Regions from separate parts of the Homo sapiens genome. Here region 2 is linked to region 1. The links are contacts of gene promoters, found by promoter capture Hi-C in human tissues and cell types (Jung and others, 2019). All regions are on one chromosome and are shown on one strand. Each heading gives the region's core, a stretch centred on a gene start or on the middle of the fragment in contact. The rest is flanking DNA. Distances are from core to core; before and after follow the strand shown. Region 1 holds the start of SPATA19 (spermatogenesis associated 19). Region 2 has its middle 7.8 kb from the start of OPCML.

Region 1 (7,567 bases), core at 2,068-4,567:
AAAATCGTGGAAGCAACCCAAATGCCCATCAATCAATGAGTGGATAAAGAAACTGTGGTATATATATATATGATAGAATAATATTCAGCCATAAAAAGGAATGAATTAATAGCATTTGCAGTGAACTGGATGAGATTGGAGACTGTTATTCTAAGTGAAGTAACTCAGGAATGAAAAACCAAATATTGCATGTTCTCGCTGATGTGTGGGAGCTAAGCTATGAGGATGCAAAGGCATAAGAATAATACAATGGACTTCGGGGACTTGGGGAGAAAAGTGGGAGGGGGTGAGGGATAAAAGACTACAAATGTGGTGCAGTGTACACTGCTTGGGTGATGGGTGAACCAAAATCTCAGAAGTCACCACTAAAGAACTTACTCATGTAACCAAATACCACCTGTACCGCAACACATATGGAAAGATAAAATTAAAAAATTTAACAACAACAACAACAACACGTTCATTACAGTGTTATTCATAGAAGACCCAAACTGGACACCATTTAAGGTACATCAACTGGTGAATGGACAAACAAAATGTGGTATGTCCATGCAGTGGAATAGTATTATGGGGTAATACCCCATAATAAAAAGGAGTGAATTACTGACACATGCTACAAGGTATGTAGATGACCCTCCCAAACATGCTTGGTGAAATAAGCAAGACATAATACGGTATAGTTCCATATGTATGAAATGTCCAGAAAAGGCACATCTCTAGAGATAGAAAGCAGATTGGTGGGGCTGAGAATGGAAGCCGAGGTTGCCTGCAAATGGGCATGACAAACATTTCTGGAGTGATGGATATGTTCTATAATTGAATAGTTGTGATGGTTGCACAATTCTCTGAATCTACTAAAAATTATTTAATTATACATTATGATGGGTAAATTTTATATTATTTAAATATATCACAATAAAACTGACTAAAAATTAAGAGTTTCTGTTCCTCAGAAGACAGTACTCAAAGAGTGAAAGGCAAGTCATAAATTGAGATAAAATAATTGCAAAACACATATTGATAAAGGACTACTATTTACAATACATTAAAAAATCTACAAATCAATAAGAAAAAGACCAACAATTCAATGAAAGGGCACAAAGCTCGAGGAGGCACTTCACAAAAAAGAATATCCAAAGTGACCAATAGGCAAATAAAAACATGCATGATGCCACTGATAATCGGTTAAATGAAAATTAAAGTATTATTAGTTACCACTACATCTCTACTAGATTGGCTAAATTTAAAGGAGCGACAATACTAAGTGTTGGAAAAAACGTGGAGTAACTGTCACTTTCATACATTGCTTATGGGCAGTAGATTAATACAACCCCTTTGCAGTACTGTTTGGTGTATATGAATGCTACACATATCTAAAGTCTATGACCTAGCAACTCTAATCCTTGGTATATACTCAGAAGATTTAGTGCTTATGTCAACCAAAAGATAGGTACAGTATAAAAATTTTCATAGCAGCATGATTTTAAACAGCATCAAATCAAATATAATACAAATGTCCTACTAAAAATGTTTTCTATCTTGATCTGGGCAGTGGTTAAACAAGTAAGTGTGTGTGTGTGTGTGTGTGTGTGTGTATGTGTGTGTGTGTAAAAATTTTTCTCCGCTGTATGCATATTTGTACATTTTACTGTATGCATTTTATAACATTGTAATCAAAAAGCAAATAGATTTATGTATGAGCTTCATTTTGACAACATAAGCACAGGATATGTCGTCGAGAAACTAATGAAAATTTTACTTCTGAAGTGAGTTAGAACAAGGTTGAAGGTATGGGGAAGAGATGGAACGTCCTTGAATGTATCTGTTCATGTTTTGATTTCTGAATCACATTAATATTTTAAATATTCAAAAATAAAATTACATCAATAAGGATGAAAACATAAATTTTAGGGGATAGCTGTAGAAACAGAGATGTTGACAGGTAATTTCATCTGCTATTTTACAATTTCCAGTCTTCCTTGGAATTAGGTAGGGGCCATAGGACTAGTTCTAGATCAAAAGCTCTAAGTAGGAGCCTCTGAGCTGAAAGGTGGAACACTGACCTGATTCCTCTCTGTGCTCTCTTCCCTGCTTTGGCAGTCATGGAGGTCGTGTCCTCTGAATGTGGACCTGTGAGTCTCCACATGGCACACAATTGCTCTGAAATTACCCAACTTGCACGAGAGCTTTTGAGAGTGAGAAATAAACATTTTGATTTGGAGGTTGGTTTGTTGCCTCAGTCCTCAGCAGAGCCTAGCCGATTCTGACTATGTCAGGGATGATATAAAATTGAGGCGAATTGTTGAGAGGGAAGACGTGTAGTGGCTGTATCAGGGGAATTGGAGAAAGTGATAAAAGGTTTTCTATAATCCTGAGAAGAATAAACGTGGGAAAATTTTTGGAATATTAGAGTTAGAAGAAAGCTAGGGACACAACTCTATCCCTTTCAGTATAAGACAAAGAAACTCAGACCAGAGGGACTAATGATTAGGTCAAGAGCACATGACAAGTTGTTGCGGGACAGGTTGTTACTGGTGGAGGGTGTTCAGGTTCTTGGCGTCTTAAACAAAGAAATGGACAAAACACACAAACGAAGGAAAGAATGAAGTAACAAAGGCAGAGATTTAACGAAAATAAAAGTACACTCCACAGGATGGGAGCAGACTGGTTACAGAATTTTCTGGGGTTTAAATACCCTCTAGGGGTTTCCCATTGGTTACTTGGTATATACCCTATGTAAATGAAGTAGTGGCTCATGATCAGTCTGATTGGTTGCGGAAAGTGACCAATCAGAGGCTGAAGTGAAGTTATAAAGTTATATCTCTATGCAAATGAAGACCTGGCCCACAACCAGCCTGATTGTGGGAGGGGAGCAATCAGAGATACTTTCAGTTTTTCATCTGCCATGCAGAAAAGGAGAGGGTTGCAAAGGGCGTAGCCTCTGGTCTTTTTGTTACTTGGGCACGGAAAGTTGGGGTTTTCCTTTTGATTTAGTTCTAGGAAGTCAGTGTAAATCGGCCTTAGGTTTCCTGGCTCCAGACCCCATCCTCCTGCCTGGAGGTGAGCTCCCAAATTAGTGCTTTCCCAAGAAAAGAATTCAAGGGTCAGCCAATGGTGTTAGACAGCAATCTTTTATTCAATGGTTCTGCTCCTTGAAGCAGGGTAACTCATAGGAGTGCACCCAGAGCCTGAAATGCAGGGGCTCTTGGCAACGGCATTTATACTCACATACATCATTTTCAAAGGGAGGCCATTGTCACATCACCATGGGTCAGCCAATCAGGTGGACACCTCCCTTCAATGACCTTCCTGTCCCATAGGAGTTCTCAGGCAGCTTCAATGGAAGGAGGGAGCCAAGAAGGGGGCCTGGTATACATTCAAAGATGATAATTACGACATGGATTGTGTATATTCTTGCTCGGAAAGGTGTAGGGCTTCCCTTCCTACCAATAACCAGTTCGGTAAGCAGCTTGGTGGTAGTCACATGGAATAATTTTTCATATATCTTCTCCCCCTGTGGGACCCTGCTGCACTTCATAGAGATCTTACAAATAAATTTGAGTAACAGTTGCGGGGGCTGGGTGGGAAGAGCTGAATTTCTAGGTTTTCTGAGGTCACCAACTTGCCAATTTGTTCCAGGACATTGACGTTGTGGAAAGTGAGGCTGTGTCTGTACTACATCATTGGTTGAAAAAAGTGAGTAAGATTTCTTTATGACTCAGGATATCCAAAATGCTAGAGAAGTGGTCTCAGTGGGTGTGGGGATCTGGACTTCCTTCTTCATGGAACTGGAACTCAAGTTCATTGCCAGACACCCTTCCTAGATTTGAGTCTAATTTCTTCACATGTGCTGGAGGACACTGTGGCTTGTGTCCTGGCAGGAAATGTGTTAGCACCACCACTAACGCCGTCCTGCTTCTCAAGCATCCTGGCTTAAGGGTTTCAGCTGCATCCTTCCCAGCTCAAGGGTGTCTCAGGAACACCTTGGGATAGGGCCAGGGACTTAGGGAGTTCTGAGGACTTTACAGGGAAGTAGCTTATTGTGGGAACAGTGAGGTAAGGAGTGTATGTGTGTGAATATGTGGTGTGTGAGTTGTGATGGAGAATGAATAAAAGGAAAGGAAGAGGAGAAGAAGACCCAGGGTTGGATGCAGAGTGACATTTTCAGAGGGAATTTCTCACCTTTCAGACAGAAGAAGAGGCTTCTCGGGGCATAAAGGAAAAGCTGTCCATCAACCACCCTTCCCAGGGTGTAAGGGAGAAGATGTCCACTGACTCCCCTCCCACCCATGGCCAGGACATCCACGTGACCAGAGATGTGGTAAATGAGAGTTTGAGACCTTGCCTGGGAGTAGCGGTGAGGGAGAGGGGAGAGGTGGGAGGTGCACCGTAAATGATTCTGGGCAAGGGTGAGGTGCTCGTCTGGGCTCTGTGCCAGCCCAGTTGGGGGCCACACTGGGCAGGAATCACATGGACCCTCTGGATTTCCCAGGTGAAGCACCACCTCTCTAAGTCTGATTTGTTGGCAAACCAGAGCCAAGAGGTCCTAGAGGAGAGAACACGAATCCAGTTCATAAGATGGAGGTAAGGTGTCCCACTTGCCCTGGGCGAAGGAAGGGGAGGGAGAGATGCGCAAGCCCCTCTCTTCACGAACCCTCAGATGCTCTTCTCTAGAGATGTCGTCTTTGGCTGACAAATTCCTCAGCCTTGCTTTGGGGTCTTAAGGGAATATCCTTGCTATCTTGAAAGCCCAGCTCATTTCTACATTTTTAAATGACTTGAGGGGTTGGAAAACTGGGCTTGCACTCCATTTCTTAAATGCTTCTGAATACATTTCAGATTTCTGTTATTTTTGCACTTGAGTTGCTCAGAAGTGGCTGCACTTTAAAGAGCTAAAAGAAAATAAGCTCTTAAAATGCAAAAGCCAAAGTTTTCATCTGCAACTGAGGTGTGGGGAGGCTTCCCAGCGCCCGAGGCTAGAATTCTGCACTCGGTTATGGTGGCTTCGCCAGCGTCCCGGGTGCCTGCCAGCTCACAGCCGTCCCCACTGCCTCTCGTGGCTCTGCAGATGCTGAGCCCCGAGGCCCAGGGAGCTGGCCTGAAGCCATCATGCTTCAGACAGAGGCTTTCCTATTTCCTTTCCTGCACCTGTGTTCACTGGGGGTCTCTGGAGCACATCAGCCACCCCTTCCCAGGAGAGGGACTGAGGGCTTAGACTGGTCCTACGGGAACCTGAAGGAGACTTCTCCCCTTCCTCCTCTCTTCCTCCTTTCCCTGCCGCATCATCGATGTTGATCTGTTGTATCAAGGAGGCTCCATTTCTCAAGAAACGGTTTCCATGTGCTTACCCCTTCTAGTGGCATCTGCCTTTTAGGAAGACTCAAATGCACAGTAATTTCATAACCAAAAGGAATAACATGGTGGGATCTGAGAGCTCCCTGGGAAAGAGTTTTTTTGGATGGGAAGCCTTCTGAGGCCCCTAAAATCATAAATGTTGTTGATTATAATCCAGGCTTTTCTGTGCCTGACGTGGTTGTGCTATGGAATTGCGGACATTGTGCTCCTTGGTTTGGATAACACACACATCATCTTCCAATATTTTAAAAATCTCGTCTGTATAAAAAAACTAGTTTTAAGCTTTTCAGACAGGCTACAGGAATCAGTCAATTATTTACATATAATTTTTCCACTCTGGATTTTCTACAAAGATTTTAAACCAAAAGCCTCCGCCTATCTCCCCCCACAACCCACTGGTTTTGGTGTCCCCCTCTTATTTCAGTAAGTATATAGTCAGGAAATATATATATCCCTTTATGAAACAAAGCAAGGAGGCTCCCCAGGGGACCCCACAGCTTCCTCGCTGTAGGCTTTCCTAGAAGCATCTCTGAACCACAGTGGGTGTGGGGTGATGCAGGTCATCAAGAGCTGATGATAGGAGAGGAATTCAGAAGACTGAATTCAGAAGGGTGAATTCCACGGCTCACGAGACCACTGCTTGCTGCCTTTAGTAAGGGCACTCAGCTCTGTGTCCCTGGCTCTCCCCGGGACAGTCTGCTACCTGTTCAGCATTACTGGGGGCTCAAGGGTACCTGGTTAGTAAAAAAAAGCTTTGTGCTCATGAGTCAAGAAGGGGGAGAGACCAGCTCAAAAGTTCATGGTGTCAGGGCAAGAGTCATTGTTTGCAGGATCCCATCTCTAGCAGCTCTCTATGCCTGTTAAGAAAGAAACTCAGATCCCATATGCCAATGTACGAATGGCCTTTTGCAGCCACACTCGTATCTTCCAAGTGCCAAGTGAGATGACAGAGGACATCATGCGAGATCGAATAGAGCAGGTGAGACGAAGGTAAGCTGTTTGGAACTGCTTGATTTGTGTTCCTGACTGGGGGCAGGTAGGGTGGGGGTGACTGCTGGGTTTCCCGCCCACACCCAGCAATGCTATCTCTGGTATGCCAACATCAAGAGCAGAGACACACAGTTCCCAGGGCTGCGTCTTGTCTTCTGTGCTCCACATGACAGGGCTTTGCCAGCCTCCCATGGTGTCTGCCAGTGCACAGAAGGGCTTCAGGCTGTGGGCCTGTTCATATGACTGTGCTCCCAGGCCCAGTGTGGCCACGGCCTAGGCACGGCCTGCCCTCCCACCGCAGCCCCTGTGCCGTGGTCTGGGTAGGCTCTGCTATCAGGCAGCCTCCCTCCACCTGGCCCTTCTCCTCTGTCCCCTGCAGCATATCCCGTCTTACAGATGTCTCAGCTCAGGACTTCAGTATGAGACCCTCCTCCTCAGACTGCTGAGAGCAACAGGTGAGAGAGCTGACGGATGAGGAACTGGGCAGAGAAGATGGTTATCCTGGGCAGTGGGAAGGGGCACTGCAGCTGGGAACTTGGTAAAGAGGCTTAGCTTTTCCCTACTGGGGAAGGGCCTGCACTCAGGGCCAGTAGTGGGAGAGGAGGGCTGGCTGCCTTAGGCTCCCGCAACGCCTCTCTTAAGTTTGTGGAAGGACTTGAAGTCAAATTTGATTGGTTTCCTGACTCTGTGGTGTCAGAGAGCACTGCCTCTCCATCATTCATGGGCCCGGGCTTTCGTGTTTAGGAGGTTGTGGTGGAGCCTGCAATTTTGCATTTCTAAAAGTTTCTGGGCATTGTCACTGCTGGTCTGCTGACCTCACCTTGAGTCACAGATCGTAGTGTCAGGAGTGATGCTGTGTAGGTTTTAGACCTGCCACCAACTTGTGATGTGACTTTTGGTCCCATGGCCACTTGCCTTGTGCTTGGCCCGGTGGTCACACGGGGGCTGTTTATGAGGCCCTGGGAGGTGGAAGGCCAATGGCAGGATAAACAACCACAAGAGCTATCCGGGATGCAGTCCCTGAGCCTGTGGTGAACAGCTGTGCTGACCATCCTGCGGCTAAGGGAGAGATTTAGGCACAGCGACCTCAGCATGCTTACAGGAAGGCTGTTGGAGAGCAGTACCGGCATTTATCAAGGACTTACTGTATACCAGCTTCTGCACAAGGTAGTTTGTCAGGGTTTATCATTTGATCCAAAAACAACCTTAAGAGAGGGCGTTG
Region 2 (7,567 bases), core at 2,362-4,861, 310 kb after region 1:
AGCATTGCTTGAACCCAGGAGTTTTGAGGCTGCTATAAGATATAATTGCACCACTGCACTTCAGCCTGGGTGACAGAGTGAGGCCCTATCTCAAAAAAAAAAAAAATGCTTTAGGTTGGTGCTGGGGAAAGGGTGCTGTGTAAATAAAGGCCCATGGTGCTGTGGAACCTATGGGTACACTCTCCTCTGAGCACGCTGGAACCTTTCAGGACTCTTGTCTTAGTGGGTCTCAGGGCTGAGCTGTCATGGCAGGTAGTTCCTAAGAGATGCATGGTCCTCACAGTTGGTGAGTTCCTAAGTGGGTCTCAGGTGTTCAGTGTAGCTTCTTGGGGACACGGAGACACTGTCCAGAGGCGATTTTGTGTGTGTGTCACCCCCTGACCTTTTGTTTTAGTATTTTGCCACCATATTAATGAAGTTATTTTCTCTAGCCACACATTTTGGATAAAAATATATGCAGTTAAGTAGGCTCTGGAAATATTAATGTCAGGCAACAAGAGAGTTGCCTGGAAAGGAGGCCGAGGGTCACTGAAACTTGTTGATTTAATCATCCTCCTTGCTCCAGGGTTCCTAGGACCACGGGCAAATTCAAAATCTTTGTTGGTGGTGGAAGTAATGAGAGACCCATGTAGTTTATGTTAAAGGTAACAGAAGGAACACAAGTCCATTCAAAACCCTGCTCCAAGCTCTACCAGAACAAAGTCCAGGTAACCTGCTCCTCAGGCTCTGAGTTCTCATTTTGTATCAGCATCTGTGTTCCAGGCAGGATAAAGATTTGGGAGAGCATTGTTCATTCCAGGGAGTACCCAGCATGCCCCCCCTCAGCAAAAAAGCAAAAGAGCAAAAAGGCTTTCTTCACCACTTCCCCTCGTGAGAATTGCAGTTCAATAGTATAGACTTCTGAGCAGGGGCATCTTTAGGTTAACATCCTAACTCGCAGGTCTTTGGTTTAACTGAACTTTGGAGGCCTCAGAGGCTCTTACATCCTTCAAGGAAATATTGAAAACAGAAGCAAGTGTGTCAAACACAGGTACCTAGTGAAGCTTGAAGAATCTAATTTTGCAGGAGGGCATCTTCACATAAGTGCTGCGGTTTTGTGTAAGGTAAGTCTGGGAGGGCAATCAGATTCATTTCAATCTTGAGCTCTCCACAATTTCCAGTCCAAATACATGTAGCTGGAGTTTGTTTTTTTCTCTGTCATTACTGCTCGGTCCAGTGTTTCCATTTTAAAAGGTGCGCATGTGGACTGAACCAAAACCGGGATTATTTAAAATACTGTGCAGGCTGATTTCATTTAAATGGCACCACTATCTTTGGCTAATAGTGCATTCTTCGTGAAATACGCAGATGTGGCTGTGCCTAGAGAATGTCATATCCACTACCGCAACGATGATATGGCCACGTGCAGGGGCATTCCTACTTTCCAAAGGCTTTTTTGCTGGTCATTTGGCTGCCTCCCTCCTTTCTCCAGGGACCGTGGAACACTGCATCAGGGCCATCTCTGCCTTCTGCAGGGCTCAAGCTTCTGTGCACACTCAGCTTCTCTTTGCGCACAATGGATGCTCAGTAATGGTTACTGATTGAATGCTTAGTAAATATTACTTGAAAATAAGCTAAAATGGTCCTAGATTAGATGCTGACTTAGTTTTTGCCATAGAAAGATGCATATTGAGTTGAAGTAATAAACCCTTTGATTCCTTGGCCACTTTTGCTACATAGAGAATTAGCTCCCGGCCCCCAAAGATGCCAGGGACAAGGAAAAGCTTGTCCTGCATCTCTGTGCAGCTTTGGAATTAATTTTGGGTGTAAATCCTTAAAAAAAAAAGTGTGCATTCCCTGTGCACTAAATGTTGGTCTCTGGGAAGAGAAGAATGTGGAGTTAAGTACCTCATGGCTAGAAAGCGTTAGAACCTCAGTTGTAACCGAGGTGTATGATTCCTAGTTGTATGCTTCTTAATGACTTGGGCTTTATTTTTACATTGGCACAAACAGCTAGCACAACCATGGAAGTCATTGTCACTTAGTCTCTGGGGCCAGCCTTTGCTAACAACAAAGTCTCCTGACTCTCCTGAGCCCCTATCCTGCAAGAAAACTTATTTTGGACTGTAGCCTCACACAAAGGGTCAGTGTCAGCAATCTGTGAGCACAGACATGCAGGAGGGAGGAAGCCTGAGTGGCTCCCTCGGTGCCAGCCACCTCCTCCGAGCGAGCGTGGGCCCGGGCTAGGTGGAACCTAGGCAGTAGCTGGTGTGATGGAGTGGCTGGAGGGGTTGGAGGCAGAAGGAGATGCAGTTAAAATTCTCCGCCTTGCTTGAACATGTCCTCCTGGAAGCCATGAAGTTAGGGAATGTGTGACTGTGTGTTTTTCTTTTTCTTCACCCCCTCCCCGCCTTCCCTCTTTTTCTTCCACCAAATGCAAATCAATAGATGTGTATTCACAGCCTAACAAGATGTCAAGGAGAGAAGAGTAGCCTTTTCATTCAGAGAAGAGTAGGGAGAGGCCCCTCCACACAGGGAGAAAAGGAGGACAGGAAATGGGCGGGGAAAGCAAAAGGGAGGAGAGAGAAAGGGAAAACCAAAGTCAGCCACAAGACAGAGGGTGGCGCTCCGGGCAGGAGTCTGGGAGTGCTGGCCCTGCCTGACACTTACTTGTGGGTGGGCGTCCTTCCGCATTCCTGCTCTTCACTTTGGAAAAGGGCTAATGACTTTTTCCCCCTTACATAGGCTATTTCAGTTCTTGCTTGAGAGACGTTCTGGGGGAAAACTTGCATACGAAGGTGAAAATCTGGTGCCATTTTCTTCAATACTTAGTTAAAGTGGGATCAGGCATATCTAAATAGAAGGCTTGTGATGAGGCGAGCTTGGTTATTGCACTGTCTCCAGCACATCTAGCCAGTGTTTGGGCTGTGTGTGAGCTAAGGCAATGCTTATGTGATTAGTGACAGCAACAGTGTTTGAAAGGAGCATTCATTGTCGGGGCTGGCTGGTAGGAAAGGCCTAAGTATCAGGATATATGTATGCCGGTCCTGGCTTAATCCTTGATTTGCTAGGATTTGGGTCAGATCTTTTCATCTCAGTTCCTCCTTATTTTTCTATCTGCGAAGTGGGGCTAATTTGTTCCTTCTGTGCTCCTTCACACGGGGGTGAAGCAAATAAATGACTTCATGAAAGTGCATGTTTGACGCACACTTCAGCAGTAGTCACTCATATTTCAGTGACTCCTGTTTGTGCAGGACTTTGCTTTCTATTGGAAGCAGAGCTTGCTATTCCAGGTGTGGTCACAGTTCTGTCTGTCATCTTTCCTGCTTCATGGCTACTAAGTGCATGAACTTGTATGCAGTCAGTTATGGAGGGCTGATCTCCAGTGTCTTCGCTAATCTCACAGACATGATAACAAAGGGTTAAAAAGGTACAAATCCCAAGGACAAACAAAAAATAGAAAAAAAATTGGAGGTGTGATGGATGTTTTCTTCAGAAAAAAAAAAAAAAAACAACAATCAGTGGCAACTGATTTAGTGAAGAAAGGACATTTAAGGGTCTGCAGGGTGACATGACAGATAGACTTAGACTGTTGGACCCAGGCCTGGGAATGAGAGGTACAGGATACCTTGGAAGACACAAATGGGGAGGGCTGAAAGTAAAGGATTGGTTGAAAGTCTGTGTCATACACTTCTCATCCCCAGAATTCCCTGATCCTCCCACTATAGCATGAATGGAAAGTTAATTTTTGGAAGGAATTGAAGAAGAGAGGCTCCAGTCTCAACCACAGGAGAGAGTTGAGGCCCTCTATTAAAAACAAAGAGGTTGAGAGTCTCCATCCTGAATGGTGAAACCCACTGAGCCTTCTTCTAGAATGAGAGAAGCCAGGATTTTACTCCCCTGGGAAGAGAATGAAGGGCTCCTCTGTGGGGAAATTTGTCTGGCTTAAGGACAAAAAAAAGGACCTACAACTGCTGACACTTTGCGGGAAGGGGCCCCAAGGCCAGCTCCTTGCCTGATAATCTTTAAAGGATCTGCCAGTCAATAATGCAAGTTAGTCTTTTGTTGCTTTTCTCTTGAATATAAAAGGAAGACCAAAGATCACCAGACAGTTGAGGAAGCTTTTCCGCATAAAAGCCAAAGACAACACAACTGAGGGAAAAAAAATACGTTATCTGAGGAAATGGAGATTTTGCAGGCAGCAAAAGGAAATCTCAGAAGCCTTAATTAATATCCTCAGAGAGATGTTAGAAGATATTGTGAACGTGAAACAAGAATAGGGAACTATTTTTTAAAAAAAGACAACAAAGAAGACCATTTGAAATTAATAGTTTGATAGTATAATTAACAAAATTCACTAGGAGAAATTAAAGTCAAGGGCATCTTGATGAAAAAGAGAGAAAATAGATGGAAACCAATCCAGGTACTCTAATGTCCTTTTAATAGGACCTCCACAAATAAGAACAAATAAAATAGAGAAGAGAAACATTTTGAAGCCACAATGTGAAAAAAATTCAAAATTCCCAGAGTTAAAGGACATGAACATTTTCACACTAAGAGAGTTTATTGAGTGCCTGTCACAATGAAAGGAAACAGATCCACATTAAGAAAGATCTTTTTTTTTTATTTTTTGAGAGGGAGTCTCACTTTGTCACCCAGGCTGGAGTGCAGTGGCGCCATCTCGGCTCACTGCAAGCTCCGCCTCCCGGGTTCACGCCATTCTCCTGCCTCAGCCTCCCAAGTAGCTGGGACTACAGGCACCCGCCACCACGCCCGGCTAATTTTTTTGTATTTTTAGTAGAGACTGGGTTTCACCGTTTTAGCCGGGATGGTCTCGATCTCCTGACCTCGTGATCCGCCCGCCTTGGCCTCCCAAAGTGCTGGGATTACAGGTGTGAGCCACCACACCTGGCCTAAGAAAGATCTTTACAAAATTTTGGAAAGCCATGAATAAAGAGAATACCCTAAGTATTTACTGAGACAAAATAAAGCTGTCTCACATACAAAGATACATAAATTGATATTCATCAGACTTTTCAACAAAAATGCTTAAACTTAGAAGAACATAGAGAAATGACTTCAAAATTTGAAGTGGATACTCATTCTCAACCCAGCATTCTATGTGCAGCTTAACTAGCTATACATGTTGAGTGAGGTAAGAATAAAGCCATTTTCCAGTATGCAGATAACCACCTAAGTATGCTTTCTCAGCAATCTATACAAAGATGAGTTGCATTAATACAAGGAAAGACACCGAGAGGAAAGAAAACCTGCCTCCAGAAACAAGGGAGAAGCACAGGCTGTTGTATTCTCTTGGTAAAGGGAAGTCCCAGATGACACCTGAGGTTCAGGGGGATGAATGACTCTGGGGAATGCCTTTAATACAAGACATTGAGAGATTACTCAATTGATTCAACAATAATGAGACAAATTTTAGAGTTCTGCAGAAAGTTTGGGGAGAGTCAATGATAGGTCTATAAAAAATTAAGCAAATTAAACAAAAAGGCAAATATTATCTCCAGGAAAAGCAAACAGTTGCATAAGAAAGACAATAATAAAAAATGTCAATACTGCATATTGATATAATTAAACAACTGCATATTGATATAATTAAACACTGTGAAATTATTTATATTTAAAAAGGGGGCCGGGTACGGTGGCTCATGTCTCTAATCCCAGCGCTTTGGGAGGCCGAGGCGGGCGGATCACCTGAGGTCAGGAGTTCAAGACAAGCCTGGTGAACATGGCAAAACCCCATCTCTACTAAAAAATACAAAAATTACCCAGGCGTGGTGGCAGGTGCCTGTAATCCCAGCTACTCAAGAGGCTGAGGCAGGAGAATCTCTTGAACTCGGGAGGCAGAGGTTGCAGTGAGCCAAGATTGCGCCACTGCACTGCAGCCTGGGTGATAAGAGTGAAACTCCATCTGAAAAAAAAAAAAAAAAAAGGGAGGAGAGGTGCAAGGTTAGCAGGGAACAAGGTTGAATCCTCATCTCCTGTGGTAGGTAGTCAGTAAATCATTTTAAAAATTGTTAAATGAAGAAGTGGAAGAATAAGCACTTTTTTTTTTTTTTCAATCTTTCACCGGGCTGGAGTGCAGTGGTGCGATCTCAGCTCACTGTAACCTCTGCCTCCCACGTTCAAGTGATTCCCCTGCCTCAGCCCCCCGGGTAGCTGGGACTACGGGCACCTGCCACCATGCCCAGCTAATTTTTGTATTTTTAGTAGAGACGGGGTTTCACCATGTTGGCCAGGATGGTCTCAATCTCTTAACCTTGTGATCTGCCCGCCTCGGCCTCCCAAAAATATAAGCACAATTTTAAAAGAAAGGAAGCAAATACCGGAAGAAATAGCTAAAAGAGATGGAAGTTGTTGCTCCCGCGGAGTGGGATTTGGAATGCTGTTTTCAATCTTAAGCAGTTAACACTAAAAACTTGATAAACTATGTAATATATTACTTTAAGGTTTAAAAAATTTTTTTAAGTATGATGCTGACATCATGTAGTAAACCTTGTAATGATTTCATGTAAGCGTATCAGAGACCTTTGAGGGAGGATGGAAAGCATGTGGCCTTTGGAGTCAGCCAGCTCTGAGTGAATCTCAGCTCTGCCAATGCTCTGCAGAGCCTTGGGGAAACCCTAGCTGACATTTCTGTGAAGTGTGTGTTGCAGTGTCTACTTTGTGGAAGGGATTGGTGTGAAGAGTAGCCACGGTGCATGTTAGCCACCTTGCAGGGAAACTGGAACGTAGTGCATGTTTCATAAGTGATACTTATTGTTAAGGCTTTCTTGGGCTTGACCAAGATATTTTGTGAACATATTCAAATTTCGAAGAAGTATCAGAAATAGGTTAAGACCTGAGTCCAAAGGTACAACTCCCATTGTAAGAGAGTCCCTGGGACTTCAGAAGGGCTTACTCTTCTAGTCATAAGCCAGTCATTTAATAAATCATTGCTCCTTTGAACTAAATGACACCTTTGTGGTTTAAAGGAGTTAATGTGCCTTCCAGAGTCTTTAACTTGCTCTCAGGGAATCACTTACAGCTCAGGAGGCTCCAGTTCATTTTGGAATATTGAAAGCTTAAGTGGAAGAGTCAGATTTTAATCTGTAATGTTTTATCATCTTCCGCTTTTTATTTTTTGCAGGCAGCCCCCAACCCTAACAAGTATTTCAGTATCTAAAAATCCATCCTTCCTGTTCCATTGTTGGGCTCCAAGTGCACCAATCCATCATCTTAACACTATTTACTGCAGAGTTTGTCTCAGCAAAAGGTTGGGTGAATGTGAATTGCACTAAAGAGCTGTTAGTGTCCACACAGTCTACTCTCTGCTTCCGGGGTTTGCACTTGCTGCTTTCATCTGCCAGGAACAATCTCGGGCTTTTCCTCCTTCTGGGAAGCTCCTACTGGGATCCCAGCTTAGAAGTCCTGTCCTCAGGGCAGTCTCACACTCTCCCCGTCCCCAGGTGTATCTGTATCTCATGCTTTGCCATAGACCTATATATTTTCTACACACACTTGTCATAAATGTAATCAATTCACGGTTCAATGTTCTCCTCCCCCACTGCTCTCTGAATTTTGGAGGGGTGAG

Evidence for each region. The method cuts DNA at HindIII sites, captures the fragments that hold promoters and counts their contacts. A contact is called where the count stands out against the background at its distance.
Region 2: a contact is called between a fragment that was not itself captured here and the fragment with the promoter of SPATA19 in region 1, in 1 of the 25 tissues and cell types used here (dorsolateral prefrontal cortex).

What each region holds. Positions count from the first base shown.
Region 1 is chr11:133,841,263-133,848,829 of GRCh38, reverse strand. It overlaps SPATA19 (spermatogenesis associated 19), which reads left to right and starts at 3,317. Exons shown (of 7, transcript NM_174927.3): 1 at 3,317-3,461; 2 at 3,640-3,696; 3 at 4,190-4,321; 4 at 4,493-4,584; 5 at 6,268-6,345; 6 at 6,725-6,800. The coding sequence starts at 3,384. The coding sequence ends at 6,791. RefSeq lists an enhancer at 6,087-6,629. The HindIII fragment of the contact is 7,724 bases long and covers 1-5,872 here.
Region 2 is chr11:133,536,551-133,544,117 of GRCh38, reverse strand. No RefSeq gene overlaps it. Among named protein-coding and RNA genes, the nearest start is that of OPCML, 7.8 kb to the right of the region's middle. RefSeq lists enhancers at 2,410-2,704, 2,377-2,948. The HindIII fragment of the contact is 3,936 bases long and covers 1,644-5,579 here.